2 separate regions of the Homo sapiens genome follow, and region 2 is linked to region 1. Evidence: promoter capture Hi-C in human tissues and cell types (Jung and others, 2019). All regions are on one chromosome and are shown on one strand. Each heading gives the region's core, a stretch centred on a gene start or on the middle of the fragment in contact. The rest is flanking DNA. Distances are from core to core; before and after follow the strand shown. Region 1 holds the start of HOXC11 (homeobox C11). Region 2 overlaps FLJ12825 (a long non-coding RNA gene).

Region 1 (6,890 bases), core at 221-2,720:
AACGCCCAGACCCCCGCCTGGAACGCAGTGGAGTCCTGCGCCGCCTCGCCCCATTCCCCTGTCGCCGCTGACCCCAGAGTTGCTTGGGTTTCTGCTCGAGGACCCGCGAACACATAGTTTGAACATTTTCAAAACTAGTTTTAAGAAGGATCATAGCGGTCCTGGCTTGCCTCTCCGGTCTCAGGTTCTGCTCCATTGCTCCTCTCCCCCACCTCTCCCCCTCTCTGGATCTCTCCCTGTCTTTCCCTCGCCCTCCCCTTTCTCCCCCTCCACCCCTCCCCTCCTCCCCACTCCTCGGCAGCCCGGCTCCCCATACTTCCTTAAATGCTCCTCTAAGTTCACGATCAAAGTTAATATCGCCCGCAATGGTTGCGCTTTTAAAAATTTCACAGACCGAGGGAGATAACGGGGGAGGGGGGTTCACCCGGCTTTTCCAAAGAGCCCTTTTCCCTCCCTCCCCACCCCTTCTCCATCGTAAAAAGTCGAGTCGTTGGGAGAGAGGGCTTTGTAGGTTATAATAAAATCCTTTGAATGCTTATAAAACTCCACATAAAATCGGACTGACCCAAAACACGAGGCCGTCCCCGCTCCCCTTGCCTCCCCCCTTCTCTCGCCCTCCCTCTCTCGCTCCCTCCCTCGCTGCCCGCCCGTTCCCCGGCCGCTGCTACCTACTGGGGGCGGCTCCTTTGGCCGGCTCCTTGGCCACGGAGTGGGCTGAACCGGACGAGCTGGGATTTGTGTTCTCCTCCTCAGCCTCCGCCTCGGCACCCGCCTCAGCCCGGGACGCCAGTCCCGAGGCCGGGGGTGCCTCGGGCTCCCCCTTGGCCTCGCCCTTGCCGGAGCAGGGGGGCTCGGCGGGCGGGTCGCCGCCACCGCAGTAGGCGTTGTCGAAGAAACGGTCGAAGGCTTGAGGCAGGACGCTGTTCTTGTTGACTGAGGAGTAGAAGCCGGCGGGGGTTGCGTGCGGGGCGCTGGGGTGGTGGTGGCCGCCGTAGGAGCCTTCGTTTTTCATGAGGATCTCGGTGACGGTGGAAGGAGGCAGGCACTCCCGGTGCATAAGCTCGTCGGCCGCCGCATAGCAGGAGGAGTAGCTGTTCCGATGGTGCCACTTGCCGGATGGCTCCAGGCCGTAGGAGACCTCCCGGACCGGGGGCACTTGGGCCGAGTAGGGATAGGAGATCTGACGAGAGGGGGCCTGGGGCAGGAAGGAGGAGACCGTGGAGAACTCGGGCATGTAGTAAGTGCAACTGGGCAGATAGAGGTTGGAGGCGCAGCTCCCTCGCTCGCCGAAATCTGCGCCCCTCTCCTTGCGCGACGGAGAGCAGAAGTTGCCCAGGTTGACCGAGTTAAACATCGTTCTCCTCTCCTGCCGGCTCCGGATGGAGGTTTTGGACCCGGTCTAGCGAGGGGGGAAAATTTGGGAAGGCGAGATGACGCGTTATCCGTCTTAGTCTCTCTCTCTCTGAGCACGTGATCCAAAGTAGATATTGTCATATATCAGTTCGGAGCACTTCGCAGACGTAGGAGGGGTTCTCTCTTAGGTAAGATCGGGGACGTTCAGGCGATTGGTTTGCAAACACCGCAGAAACATTATGAAAATCAATTGCAGATTTGTATTCGTTTTTCTCTCGTCACTCCCCTTCTCTCCATACCACAGCACGAGCAAAGGAGGAGAGAGAGGGTTGGGGTGGGGTGGGCGGTGGGATGGGCGAGGGTGGTGGCTGGGAAGGGGTAATTGTATTTTTTTCTAGCTGCTGCTCTTTTTTCCCCCAGGATTGGGGGAAGGAGGAGGGCTCTCATGTATGGGGGTCTTGCCTCCTCTCTGTGAGCAGCACCAGGAGGGTGGGAGTGAGGACTTCTTTCCCCACTGCCTGATTTCCCCAGAGAAGTGAATCCTTTCCCTTAAATCTCAGGGACTCTTACCCTTCCAACCCGCAGAGACACCGCCTGTTCACAAGAGTTTGAAGAAGTCCACTCTTTTCCTGGCCAGAGCTGGGTGTCAAGACTACCTTTCTGGAGTCCTTAGAGAGACTCCCGGAAGAGTATCTGAAGTTTCCCAAAGGTGAGGCAGCCCAGCTGCAAGCCAGTGTCCCAACTTTGTCTGGCTTGCTGTGCTGCCCCTGGCTAGGGAGTCAGATTAGTCATAAACGAGTGGTGAGCAGTGCGCCAGCCGCCCAGCCGGTGCCTGGCGAAGTCTGGGAAAAACCTTCTCTAATGTTGTGTTAAATATTTAGTATGAGAGAGTGGCCCTGGGTGAATATTTCATGCCTGCCTTTATTGTCAATCAATGTGAAGAAAGCTACATCCACTGTGGATTTTCAAATCCCAAACCCCAAAGAAAAGGATTGGAATGAGAGCCATGTATCTTCTATGTCAGGGCCCTTTGGCTTAGTGGCTCAGCCTCAGCTAGTGCGCTGAAAAGAAGCCTAGTGTAGGGGTCCAGGAAGAATATGGTGGGGGGGACTAGGTTTGGGGTTCTTATCCTTGGATGATTTTGAGGACTGTAAGGTGGGTGGTGGGGCCAGGTATGGGTCTCCAGAAGAGACTAACCAGACAGTGGAAAGGAGCGGTGGATGCTGTGGCATCAGGGGAGGCCCAGCGGCCACTCCCTAGTCAAAGCCCCCAGCCTCTGTCCCTGGGGCTGTGACCAGATCTTAGTGCCTCCTTCCTATTTCTCAGCCCTGTCCTGCCCTCCTACAAGTCTGTCAGCCTCCTGGATAGCTGTAGCCCAAGAAGTAGGCTCAGTCATTCTGCATCCCCAACCCCTTGCCTTCCATCCCTCTGAGCACCACAGGACACATGTGGGCATCTGAAAATCACTTTATTGAAAGGTTCTGGACTGGGTCCAAGGGGCCAAAAGCAACCAGCATGAGCTGAAAGCAACCTTGGATCCAAAGAGGAGCTGCCAGGGCACAATTTGTTTGGGAAGGAGGGGAAGAACCGAAGCCCCCAAGGGCTCAGCCCAATGCACACTCAGGGGAAAACAAAAAATAGCCCGAACTCTCTTTACATCCATAACCCTCAGTTAAAATTAGTTTCCACTTAAAGAAATTAGAATGGATTTGTCTTGATGAAACATGATAAGGTGCTGCGGCTCCCAAACCAGATAAGGAGGACACAAAAAATTGTAGCTTGTCTCCATATGTAACCCCTAAAATCCATTCCTCCTCAATGCTCCTGCCTCCTCAAACTTGCTCAGCATTTAAGTGACACCTGAGTGGAGTCTGCCTCCACCATGGGTCCCATTCTCAGGGTGGTTCTGGAATACTCAGGGATAGGTCTCAGGTGCCCCTCTACGCACTCAATGCTGGGCGCTACTCCTTTAGTTCTGGTCAGATCTTAAACTGAAGCAAAGAAGAACTAGATTGGGGCTTTGCTGAAGTGTGAGACTTCTGTTGGTAAGGGGCCATGAAAAGAAAAATCTGCTGTGTTTCCTTTTTCCTCTAGCCCTTTTTATAGAGTGAGATGGGGCCAGCATTTTTAATTATAGTGGTGGGGAACTATGGACTATGGCTTTTAATGGGGTTCACACTGACCTCATTAAACTCGAGTTTATTGAAGGCAAAATGCTGCCCAAACAGTGATAGGAACCAGCAAGAGGGAAGCGAGAGGTACCCCTATCCTTGCAGAGGTGTGGATGAGGGCTCGAGTCTCAGATCCCGCTTTCTCCACTTCCACCCAAGGCTCTGCTTCCTTCCCCCTCCTGGCCCTCCAGGGTGATGTGGGGCCCAATCCCCCAAGGCAGATTCAGCAAAGCCAGGACTGAGATGGGGGTAGGGGCTGTATCCTGTGAGGAGACAGCTGCTGGACTGAGCACTTGAATTTGACCACCAAAGTTTATTCCTGGGCCACCATAAAAGTGAGCCAGGCGGCAACAAGGAGCTGCTGGCGGCCCTATTTCCTTGAAACAAAAAAGAAATGCAAGAAAGAATGTCAAAGAGTTGATGTCTAGGAAACGCTGGGGTCTCCCAACAGAGACTTCTGGAAAGTAATATTCCTCCCCTTAAAAGTAAGGCATAAAGTTTAAAATGTTCTCTAGTGTTGATATGGCTTAGTTTTTCAACAAATCAAAAAACCTCTAGCAACTGTCAGTTGCTGCTACGGTCAAGGAAAGAAGGCCCTGGCCACTGAGGTCAGCTAGACATTTACTGGCAAAAATGCCCATGGTCTGGAGTAGCCTCCCTGCCCAGCCCTGGGTCCAGGCTACCTGGACGCTTCAGCTGAGATGTTTGCCCTAGGCTGCACCCTCTCAGCCTGTGGATTCTGGCCACAGCATCAATACCTCCCTGTACAGGAGCCATCCCTGGCCCCCAATCCCTTCCTTGTCAAGCCCGCTCCAGGTGGCTTATTTGTATCTTATCTGGTGGGTGCCTGTGACCCCTCCATCTGCTTTGAGTCCTGGCCTTCACCTGAAATTCTCTGCAGCAGGGCCATCCGGCCCTCCCCACTGGCTCTTGGTGTCCTCAGTCAGCGCCATCAGCCAGCCTGGCTGCTAGCAGGCGGCTGCGGTCTGGGCAGCTGTCCAGGTAGCTGGACCAAAGTTAAGGCAGACTCCAGCACCCTTCCCTCCAACACACGGACAACAGGGGCAGCTTAAGAAGGGGACAGTGTCTCCTAAATTCTACCCTGGGCGGCTCCCAGAGCAAACTCCCGCACACAGCGTTGGGGCCTCCTGTTAGCTTGTCTACCTCCTCCACTGCTCTGGGTTCTAGAGAGCAGATCGTGGTAGGGAAAGGAGCCCATCCCACAGACCATGAACTGGGGAGGAAAATGCTGAAAGAAGAAATGGGGCCCACATATGCTCCAGTGGGCTTGGATTGTAAATTCAGCCTGTGTGGAGTCAATAAAAAGATAAGCGGAGAGAGTCCCACACATGGACGCTCTCGTTTGTTCACAGGCTGGGCCAGCAAGGAGACTTCATTAGAAATTGGCTTTCACCTTCTTGCCTATATTTCTCTCCCTTACAGTAATATCACTGCCTGCAATAATCCCTTTAGTATGCTTTGGGATTTTCAGGTCAGTGGTTTATCTTGCACCCGGGACACCCCAGCCCCAGCCAGGGAACAAGAAGCGGGTGGGACTGCTAGTTCCTGGCTTCCACCTCTTCTCAGACTTGGCCATTGCCCCAAGCCTGAGTCCCCAAGTCAGGCCACCTAAGCTGGTGGACGCTGCTCAGAGGTTCCTGGGACCTATGGAGGAGGTAGTGGGGAGGGAGAAGGACAGCTCCTTTGCCCCCACAGGCCCCACCCAGCTTCCTCTGTGGAGAGATTGTCCCAGGATGCTAGCAACCCGACCCTATTTCTTCCCATAAAAGCCCTATTTTACGAGCCGGTTTCACTGGCCCCCTCACCAAATGCTCCAAAATGAAGGAAATGTCTTAAAAGCAGGCTGGAAATGGAGCCGCTGCTATTGGGCTTCAGTTTCCTAAGCCAGTTGTAGTGGCACAGAAAATACCTTTTCTGGGTGGGATTGCCCTGTTGGGCCACCCAGATCTCCCGCCTCACCACAGAGCAGAGGCGGGTTGGCCGGAGCCCTGATTCTCTGGCTTTAGCTCCTACATTAAGGCTCGGACCTAGTCCTCCTGATCAAAGTGAGCTCGCGGCATTTTTATGAGATCAACTTCAGCAACTCTTTATTAGCGATCAGATGCCTGGGTCGAAAATGCAAAAGGGAACAAACAGCTAATCAATCCAAAAGGAAAAAGAAAAGAGAGGGGTGGGAAGGCATGGGGTGAAAAACTTCAGGTGACACAAAGCAAAAAGATTCCAGTCACCAAAAACAAAAACAAAAAAAAATCTTTTGCCCCCAGCAAGAATCATTTGTTTGGGATCTGTTCCAGCCTCCAGGCCCTGCCTTCTGCCTGCACATTCTGCCCTGATTTCCGGAACCTGGAAGCCTAGGCAGGCAGTGGGGAACTCTGACTCGCCTGTGCTCTGGAGCTTGATCCGAAAGCTTCCACAGTGAGGACTGCTCCGTGGGGTGAGTGTTGTGGCCTATGCCTCCTTGCCCCAGCAAGGAAAGTGCCTTCTGCTCAGGATTTACAAGTCTCCCCCATTTTGCTGCTTTCCTTTCGGCGGGCTCAGTGGTTTTCTCCTCACTACAGTCAGAAGTTGAGTTACAGGAAGATTCGCCAGAGATTTATCGCCTGGCCCCAAACTTGGAGAGCCTCGTTGTCATAAACAGCCATCTATTGTCTAGACTTTTATCTCCGGGTATGGATCGTGCATTAGCGAGGCTCAGGAGACATGGGGCTGGCTCTGTGGGGTGTTTGTGCAGCCGGTGCCTGCCCGCAGGCCCCAGGGGTTTCTTTGGGTCATTTTATGAGAGTGCACACATTTGTGTACACTCTTGGAGCTGGGCAGGTACGCCTGAGTGTTCACGAGTGGAGGCCCAAGGTAGGGAAGTCTCTTTTTCTCTGTGTTGGGGAACATTCCGGTGCGTGTACTTGTGTGTTGGGTGAGAATTTGTCATGGTATGCTTTGTTTCTGGGGCATTTTAAGTGTTCCTGCCTGGGCTTTTTCAGGTTTTATTAACTTGCATCCGCCTGGCCTGTTTATATCCCTTCCAAGCAGATCATCTGGTGTTTTTCAATATTGGAGTGCATTGTGTGTATTTGGCTTCTCTCAGGAAATGGTTTTGGGTGATACCTTCCCAGGCTTACTCCCTCAGATACCCCCACCCACCCTGAATCACACCTCAGCCTCTGCTTTCACCAGGTTGTCTGGCCCTGCCCCACTCTCTGCAAGTCCCTAAATCTCCAAAGTGCCTGCCAATTTTATGTCACAGACATGAAGCACATTTTTGTAGGGTGAGGTCTGGCTATCTCTATCTTTCCCACACTAGGGGGAAGCGTCCAGCTCATAAACCACCTCACTAACTGGAGCTCCCCT
Region 2 (7,166 bases), core at 4,084-6,583, 100 kb before region 1:
TCATCTCTGTCTATGCAGGCCCAATTATCCAGATCCTCGGGGCTCCAATAGGGTCTGAGTCATTGGAACCAGGAACACCTGGCTGAAACATGCCACATAATTAGATTTTCTTTTTCTTTACCTTTTCTTTCTTTTTTTTATAAGAGGGCCAGAATTAGCCTCTTCGACTGGGGCAGAGTAGCTGGGGTGTGGAAAAGGAACACCTTCATACAACTTCCAGCTTTCAGCCCCTTGGAGAGATCTCCAAGTTCCCCCGAGCCGCCAGGACTTCCTTTCCTCGATCTCTCGGCCGCCTTCTCCTCCTTCTCCGATCGTTTTTTTTCCCCTCCCCCCACTGTCTTCTCTACGGTTTAATTAAAGTTCAGCGACTCCACTTGCCTCTCCTCTCATTTCTTTCGGAAAGCGGAAACCAGACGACCCAGCGGCCACGGGACGAGCCGCCCCAACTCAACCCCAGCAGGACGCTGGAGGGGCCTCCCTCGCCCGCCTGTCTTCGCCGGCGCTGGTCTCCCGCACCCGGGTCTGCAGTCCCTCCGCCATCTCGCAGGTGTGCAGCCGCTAGGCCTGGGGGATCCGAATGACTGGGGCTGGATAGGAATGCCTTCGTGTTTCCCAAGACCCCCGGGCCTGCTCCACAAAGTTTGAAGGGTGGGTACACCCCGACCCAGGCAAGTTGCTCCCCCAAACCCATGACTGACTAATCTGATATGACAAAAGCCCATGATGGATTTGGTATATGTTAATTCACAATGCCCTTTCCTCCAGAATTTAACTATAAGTTAATACACACCGGAAACCACGCGCATACACGCTCCTTAATGGGCTTAGGTATTAGCGAGTCCTAACGATGCATACAAATGTGCTCTGCGCTCTGTAGGCCCCTCAAGATTTATGGGCCTTGAGCTCTCTGAAGCTGTAAACAAGGAGAAAAAAAAAAGAGAAAGCGAAAGCGACTGGGGGGAAGAGACAGAGGCCTGACTCGCCCCTCCAGGTTGTGGGAGAGAAGGGATTCTTTACGTATTTTCCTTTCCTTGCAAGCTCGGTGCGTGTGGGTTTTGGCGTTGGTCTGGGGGTGGTGTTCTGCCTGAATGCTGGTGTGCATGGGCAGTGTGTTGTTTGGGTGCTGGGGTAGGATGCCTGCCTCTTCGGATTGCTGTGCAGGGGCCTGAACACAGCAGGCATTTGTGAGCATATATGCGTGAGTGTGCACTGTGTTAGGGTGTGTGTGTGTGTGTGTGTGTGTGTGTGAGAGAGAGAGAGAGAGAGAGAGAGACAGAGAGAGAGAGGCAGGCTTCCCCCTGGGCCAGGCTGCTGTCCCCTGAACGGTGGTGAACAAATCTCTAACAACAATCATAATAACAATAAATAATGAATAATAATAATAAAACAGTAGTTAACAGTCCCTCCATAACAGAATAACAATAAAATGCAAGAGGAAATATTTTGAGGTGGAGACAGAAGAAGGAGTCAGGATCACAGCATCTGAGGGGGAGATAGGAAAGGAAGGGAGGAAGAAAGCTTCTTAATATGCTCTTGGCGGGGCTGGGGTTGGGAACCCCTTTCCCAGACAAGGGACAGAAGAGGGGAAGGAGGGCCAGGAGGCCACTCTTTATTGCTTTTTTTCTCAGGCTTCTGCTTTGTGTGATCAGGGAAGGGATCCCACATATGGGGATGGTTAATGGCTTTTGGGACTCTCTAGGAGCCCCTGTTTTAAGAAGGAGGCCAAATGTGCAGGCTCAGGCCAAGGGGCAGAGATGAATGAGGCGATGACCACAGCCTTGATCCGGCAAGAGCTCAGAGATGCCCGGGAAGACGGGAAGACTGGGGGCCCGAACGGAAGCAGAAAAACACTTATGGCCGCTGGGGAGTTGGGAGAGCCAGGCTGGGGCTTCGGCAGGCCCAGGGAAAGTTCCCTTTCTAGGCTCTTTATTAAAAAATTTAGAAGGAGGAGTTGAGGCGCCTTGAATTTTCCTTCGCGAGTTTGGAGACTAGCCGATTTTTCATGAAGCAAGCAAAGACCGCGGTCCCGGATCCGGCAACATCTACCTCATTCTCTCCAGGTACAGTTTTCTGGTCATTTAATTAGTTTGTTTTCTTGGGGGAGATGGGAATCACAGGGGTAGAGATAGTAAGTTTGCTAGAGAGGAAGCCACCCCACAGTTTCGGGTCTAACGAAATCCCTCCTTTAAAAACAATTGTACCCCCAATAAAAATAAAATTAAAGAGGAATATAGAAACACAAATTAGCCAACTTTTTTAAAAGAGAAAAAAGAAAAGAAAATCATCATAACAGATGAGCGTGAGAACTTCTAAAAAATTTGTCACAAACCCTTTCAGAGGTCTGGATTCTTTTTCAGTAGCCGGTGACCCATTTGGTCTGAAAAGAGAAATACACTATCCAGTGAGTCACTTATTTAAAGCCAGCACGCGCACACACACACACACACACACACACACACACACATATATTCAGAAAGCCCTGGGTTCCTTCGCATTTGAGAACAACACCGGGTGGAGGACGCTGCGATACCTAATCGGACAAAACAGCAATAAAATAAGACCGGTGGAAGCGCTGAGCGCAGGGTGCAGGGCTAGGGCCCAGGTTTTGTGTTCCAGGCCGCCGGCGAGGCAGCGGCCCCGGGCGATGGGGCGCCGGGCGATCAGGCACCGGCTGGGGACTCCGCTCGGCCTCCGCAGCCTGGCCTGCAGCCCCTTTCCCCCAGCCTCTGGGCCTCGTGGGCTCTCTCCGCTCCGACGCCTGGTCGGGGCTTCCCTGTTGAGAGGGTTTTAGGCCGAAGGGCCAAACGACTCAAGCCAGACTCTGCTTTTTCATTTTTCTCCCTTAGGCCTCTCCACTTGCCCGAGCTCTCAGCCACCAGGAGACAGAAGGAAGGGACTTCTGGGCTGCGTTGGGAGCGGGCACTGTCCCCTATCTACTCCTGCTCGGTTTCCCAAAGTCCAGCGACATCCGACCCTCCTGGGGGGAAAAATACCAGTACCCAGACACCTCTGCACCCTGTTATATGACTGGGCTTGCTTCAGGAATATCTTACAAAGAAGAAGAAGAAGAAGAAGAAAGAACAGCTTGGAGTCATGTTTACATCTAGTTCTACTGACCGGTTCCCATCTGGAGAGTTTATTTATAACTCCCTCTATAACTCTCTGTTTGGAGGCACTGGTGGCTCTATTGACAGACTGATGTCTAGGAAATATTGCTCTATGTCTAACCGTACCTAAATGTGCTGTGGTTGTATTTACAGATTTATGTTTGAGGGAAATATAATTATTTCCATTGTATTTGTGCATATACAGTAGTTATAGGAGCAGATTTATATATGGGAAAATATACGACTCTCTTACAGCCATCCGGCTTTATGTACATGTGATATCCTGACAGATTTATATCTCTGAACAGCTATATAGATAAAAACGTATATTGTTAGAATTATGTATCAGGAGATATATACTTATTGATTGTGAAATAGAGTAGTTAGAGCATTCACTTAGAGCCATATATGGCTATGGAGATATTTCTATATTATTATCACTATATATAGGCATATCTATTTATAACTACATAGTTATAAAAATAGACATAAATAATTATAGTCCTATATGTGCATGCTGCAATCTCTCTCTAGAGTTATAGACACTTTCAAATATAACTCTATAGAGAGATCTGTATGTATATAAGGTGTAATTATCTTGTGATGTTTTTACGTTGGGACTTAGGCCCGTTTGTCTAGAACAGACATCTTTATATGTAGGGGATGGGAGAGACTTGTTCACAGATATCTGCAGAGGGCCAACTGGAAACACTGTATCTGCCCTCTAGGAAACCAGCTAGGAGAGTTGTGTACTTATGGAGGGATGGAGTTACAAAAGGGTAAATAGAGCTCAGGGAGCCTTAAGGAGGGGAGGTGAATGGAGGGTGGGTGGGCTGGGTTTGAACAGATAGTGGGAGGAAAGGGGTAAACACCAGCACCCACCAGAAGGCGAGAACCGGTTTTGTGAGGGGCTGGCGCAGACGGCTGTGGACAAGGAGCTTGTAAAATGGGAAGCGGCGAACAGTCCCACCACCTCACCCTGAGACACTCTCCACCGAGGAAGCAGCCTTCAGTTTGGCTTTTAGTGCGCTGTAGGATAGGGACTGTCGTGTCCCTCCTGTAGTCCTAGAGCGTTTCTGTTGAACCCTAATTTTTAGGTCTCAAAGAGTGGGCTTCAGAGATAAAGAGGTTTAGGCAGGGACAGGGCGAGGAGCGTGGGGTGTACTTTCACTTTCCGATAAGTGAGGTAATCCAGGAAAGTGAGTTAATTTGGCCAAATAAAGCTTGTTTTTATCTGGGCCTCCTGTGCCTTGGCGGGGATGTAGGATGGGACCAGAATCTAGTGGACTGAGGAGTGAATTTGCAAGTATTGGGCCTGCTCTGATGGGGGCTTGGGGAGGTTGTCCTCACCACCCGCCCTCCTTCTCTGAGGCCTGAGTGGCCTAATTCCCTCTGGGCACAGAGGGACTCCTTCAGCTCCCTAACAGTGCTGCCCTGGGTCTTTTCAGGGAGAATTTGAGTTTAGGAACAGGGAACGTGGACTTACCCCACTAGATCTCACTTCTCCCACTCACAGCTACACCACTCTTACATCAGCCTCCTTCCAGGCACCGCTGGGCCAGGGGTCCCCAATTCTTCCCCTGCTGCCAACCAGCCCAGTGGGGAAATACCTCCCACGACTGCCAGTTTTTGTGGTTTTTTGTTGTTGTTGTTGTTGTTGTTTTTAAACAGGGAGTTACAGATAACTTCGTTGAATGTGTGAAGGAATTATCCTGAACTCAGTCTCCGTGGCCAACCTGGCCTCCAGGATCTCTAGGATGCTAGGAAGGGAGTGGAGACCCTTGGACCAGGCTAACCACCATGTGCCACCCTCCACACACCCCTGCCCACGGGACTAGGAATTCCTGCAGTGCAGGGACTCTGTCTGCTGTCTGGCACAGAATGGTTGCCCAAACATACTTCTTGAGGTAAACGGAATGGCAGTCAATATAAAAACTCACCCTCCCTCTGCACACCACCATAGCCACTGCAGGCTAGCAGGCACCCTAGCCAGGCTGGGAGATAACATGGCGGCTGGCAGCAGCTTGGGCTTTGACCGGACCGGTGGTTAGTAGGGTGGGAGAGCATCCTGAGCCTAGGATGGGGCGGGTACTGGAGCAAGGCACCTGGAATCTGGAAATTTGGGGGTAAGCCAAGGCAGACCCACCACCCCAGTGCACTTCTGCTTTCTATCTCCAGTCTCCTGGCTCCCTGGACCCCCAAGTTATGAAAACTAAACCAGAGCTGAGACCTGGGCTAGGAAGGAATTGCCTGTCAATCCGAGGGGTGCAAAGAGGAACCACCATTGGGTCCATTAAGAAATCCACAAATAAAACAAAAATAAATCAGTGCGAGACAGACAACCTGGCTGAAGGAAAGGTTTCTCTCTATGCCTCAGCCCTGCTCCAGGGCTACCAAACAGATCAGGCTTAATATTTAAAATGTTTAATAGTTAAAAATTTTTAACAATTTAACTTTAAAAAGGTCACACATTTTCTGATCCAGTAATGCCGCAATCAGATTGTTTCATTTTTTTTTTTATTATTATTATCACCAGTGTCCCCTTTTTGGTCCCTGTAAAATAGTTCCTTTTGGGAGTTTGGAGCCAGGCCAGGCACCGTCGGTGCATGGGATGAGATGGGCAGGTTTGGAGCTCCTCTGTCTGGTGAGGATCCCAGTCTGCAGAGAAGGGTTGGCCTCCCCCTCTCCCATCAAGGCTTAAAGCAAGGAGGACCCTCCCGAATTTGGTTCCTTTTCCCCTAAGTATCCTTAGAGACAATCCACCCTGTGACTAGGTGACTAGGTGAAGGACTGAGGTCCAGAAAGGAGCTATCTTAAACCTGGAATCCCATTTCCTAGTCTGCAGCCTTTGGCAGTTTCCCTCTCAGACAACTAGCCCTCTCCTTCCTCCCCATGAATACCTATGGCTTACAGGGATGGTTGTTGCTTTCCCTAAAGAAATTCAGGGAGGGAGAACTGAGGGTCCTACATTTACATATATTTGCCTAAGAAGGGCTCAAGGCAGGTGCCTGGGCTCTGGCTAGAAGTAGGGGGGTTGAGGGGGGGATTGCTGACAGTTGCTGTAAACAGCAGGTTACAGTAGTGGCCAGTGTCTATTGGTTTGTCCTTAGCCAAAAGGCAGGAAACCAATAGACACTGGCCACTATTATTAACCCCAAAGAGTCCTGGGTCCCTTTTACCTGGGCTGGAATGGCTCTTAGCTGTTCCTGGGTCCCAGACCCCTTTGAGAAGCTGACAAAAACAATTGGCTCACTTCCTAGCAAAATTCTGGAAGTGCCCTTGATAGTTGCAGGAGTCCTAGAAGCCTATGATCTCTAGACTGAGTATCCCTAATTTGTATATTTCCCCTTTGTTTCTGTGACCCGCCCCCTCCCTAAATGCCTGCCTCAGTTTTTGCCCTCCCTGAGTTCTCTTGCTTGGAAATCAAGAAGTTATTCCCTAAATATAACCCCCACGATTCTCGGCAAGGTTCCTTTTCTTCTTTTCTTTGCTAGAGCAGGTACCTGGCAGAGGCCTTGCTGCTTATGTTGAGCTCCTGTTTGGTTCTCCTGCAGACACCAGAAGAACGGCTGTTAACTGAAGCCTAGTCTATATTGCCCAATTACTCGACTGATTCCTGGGGAGGCGGGGGCTGGGGGTTATTGACAGCTGTGGAGGCCTGGCAGTAAGGGGGTCAGTTCCCATCTTTAGTGGAAATTCGAGCAGGAAGCAAGTTACAATTGCTATTATAGTCATAATAATAACAATAATAATTTATTTAGCATATCATTAGATGTGTATTTACTGTCTTCCCTCTGCTTTTTTACAAGTGTCTCCTAAGGAATTCTCACAACACCCAAGGGAAACAATAATAAGCTAATTACCACCCTTTAGTTCCTTCTCCTCCCGTCCACAAAGCCCCCCTCTCAGAGATGGAGCGTTTACAGACCCTCTTCCTATGTTTTACACCTGCTTAACACATTCTCCCCCATTCCCAATTCTCCTCTCTCATTCCCAGTTCTTCCAACCTGCTTTTTTTTTTTTTTTTTTTTTTTTTTTTTTTTTTTTTTTTCTGAGATG

Evidence for each region. The method cuts DNA at HindIII sites, captures the fragments that hold promoters and counts their contacts. A contact is called where the count stands out against the background at its distance.
Region 2: a fragment that was not itself captured here is called in contact with the fragment with the promoter of HOXC11 in region 1 in 2 of the 25 tissues and cell types used here (H1 embryonic stem cells and thymus).

What each region holds. Positions count from the first base shown.
Region 1 is chr12:53,967,706-53,974,595 of GRCh38, reverse strand. HOXC11 (homeobox C11) reads right to left here and starts at 1,470. Exons shown (of 2, transcript NM_014212.4): 1 at 673-1,470. The coding sequence starts at 1,354. HOTAIR (HOX transcript antisense RNA) reads left to right here. Exons shown (of 7, transcript NR_186241.1): 2 at 5,840-5,979. RefSeq lists an enhancer at 1-244. The HindIII fragment of the contact is 16,724 bases long and covers 1-6,890 here.
Region 2 is chr12:54,075,121-54,082,286 of GRCh38, reverse strand. All of the region lies in intron 1 of FLJ12825 (a long non-coding RNA gene), which reads right to left. LOC100240735 (a long non-coding RNA gene) reads left to right here and starts at 464. Exons shown (of 3, transcript NR_026658.1): 1 at 464-648; 2 at 1,943-2,060; 3 at 2,847-3,448. RefSeq lists an enhancer at 931-1,150 and a silencer at 2,448-2,742. The HindIII fragment of the contact is 4,817 bases long and covers 2,925-7,166 here.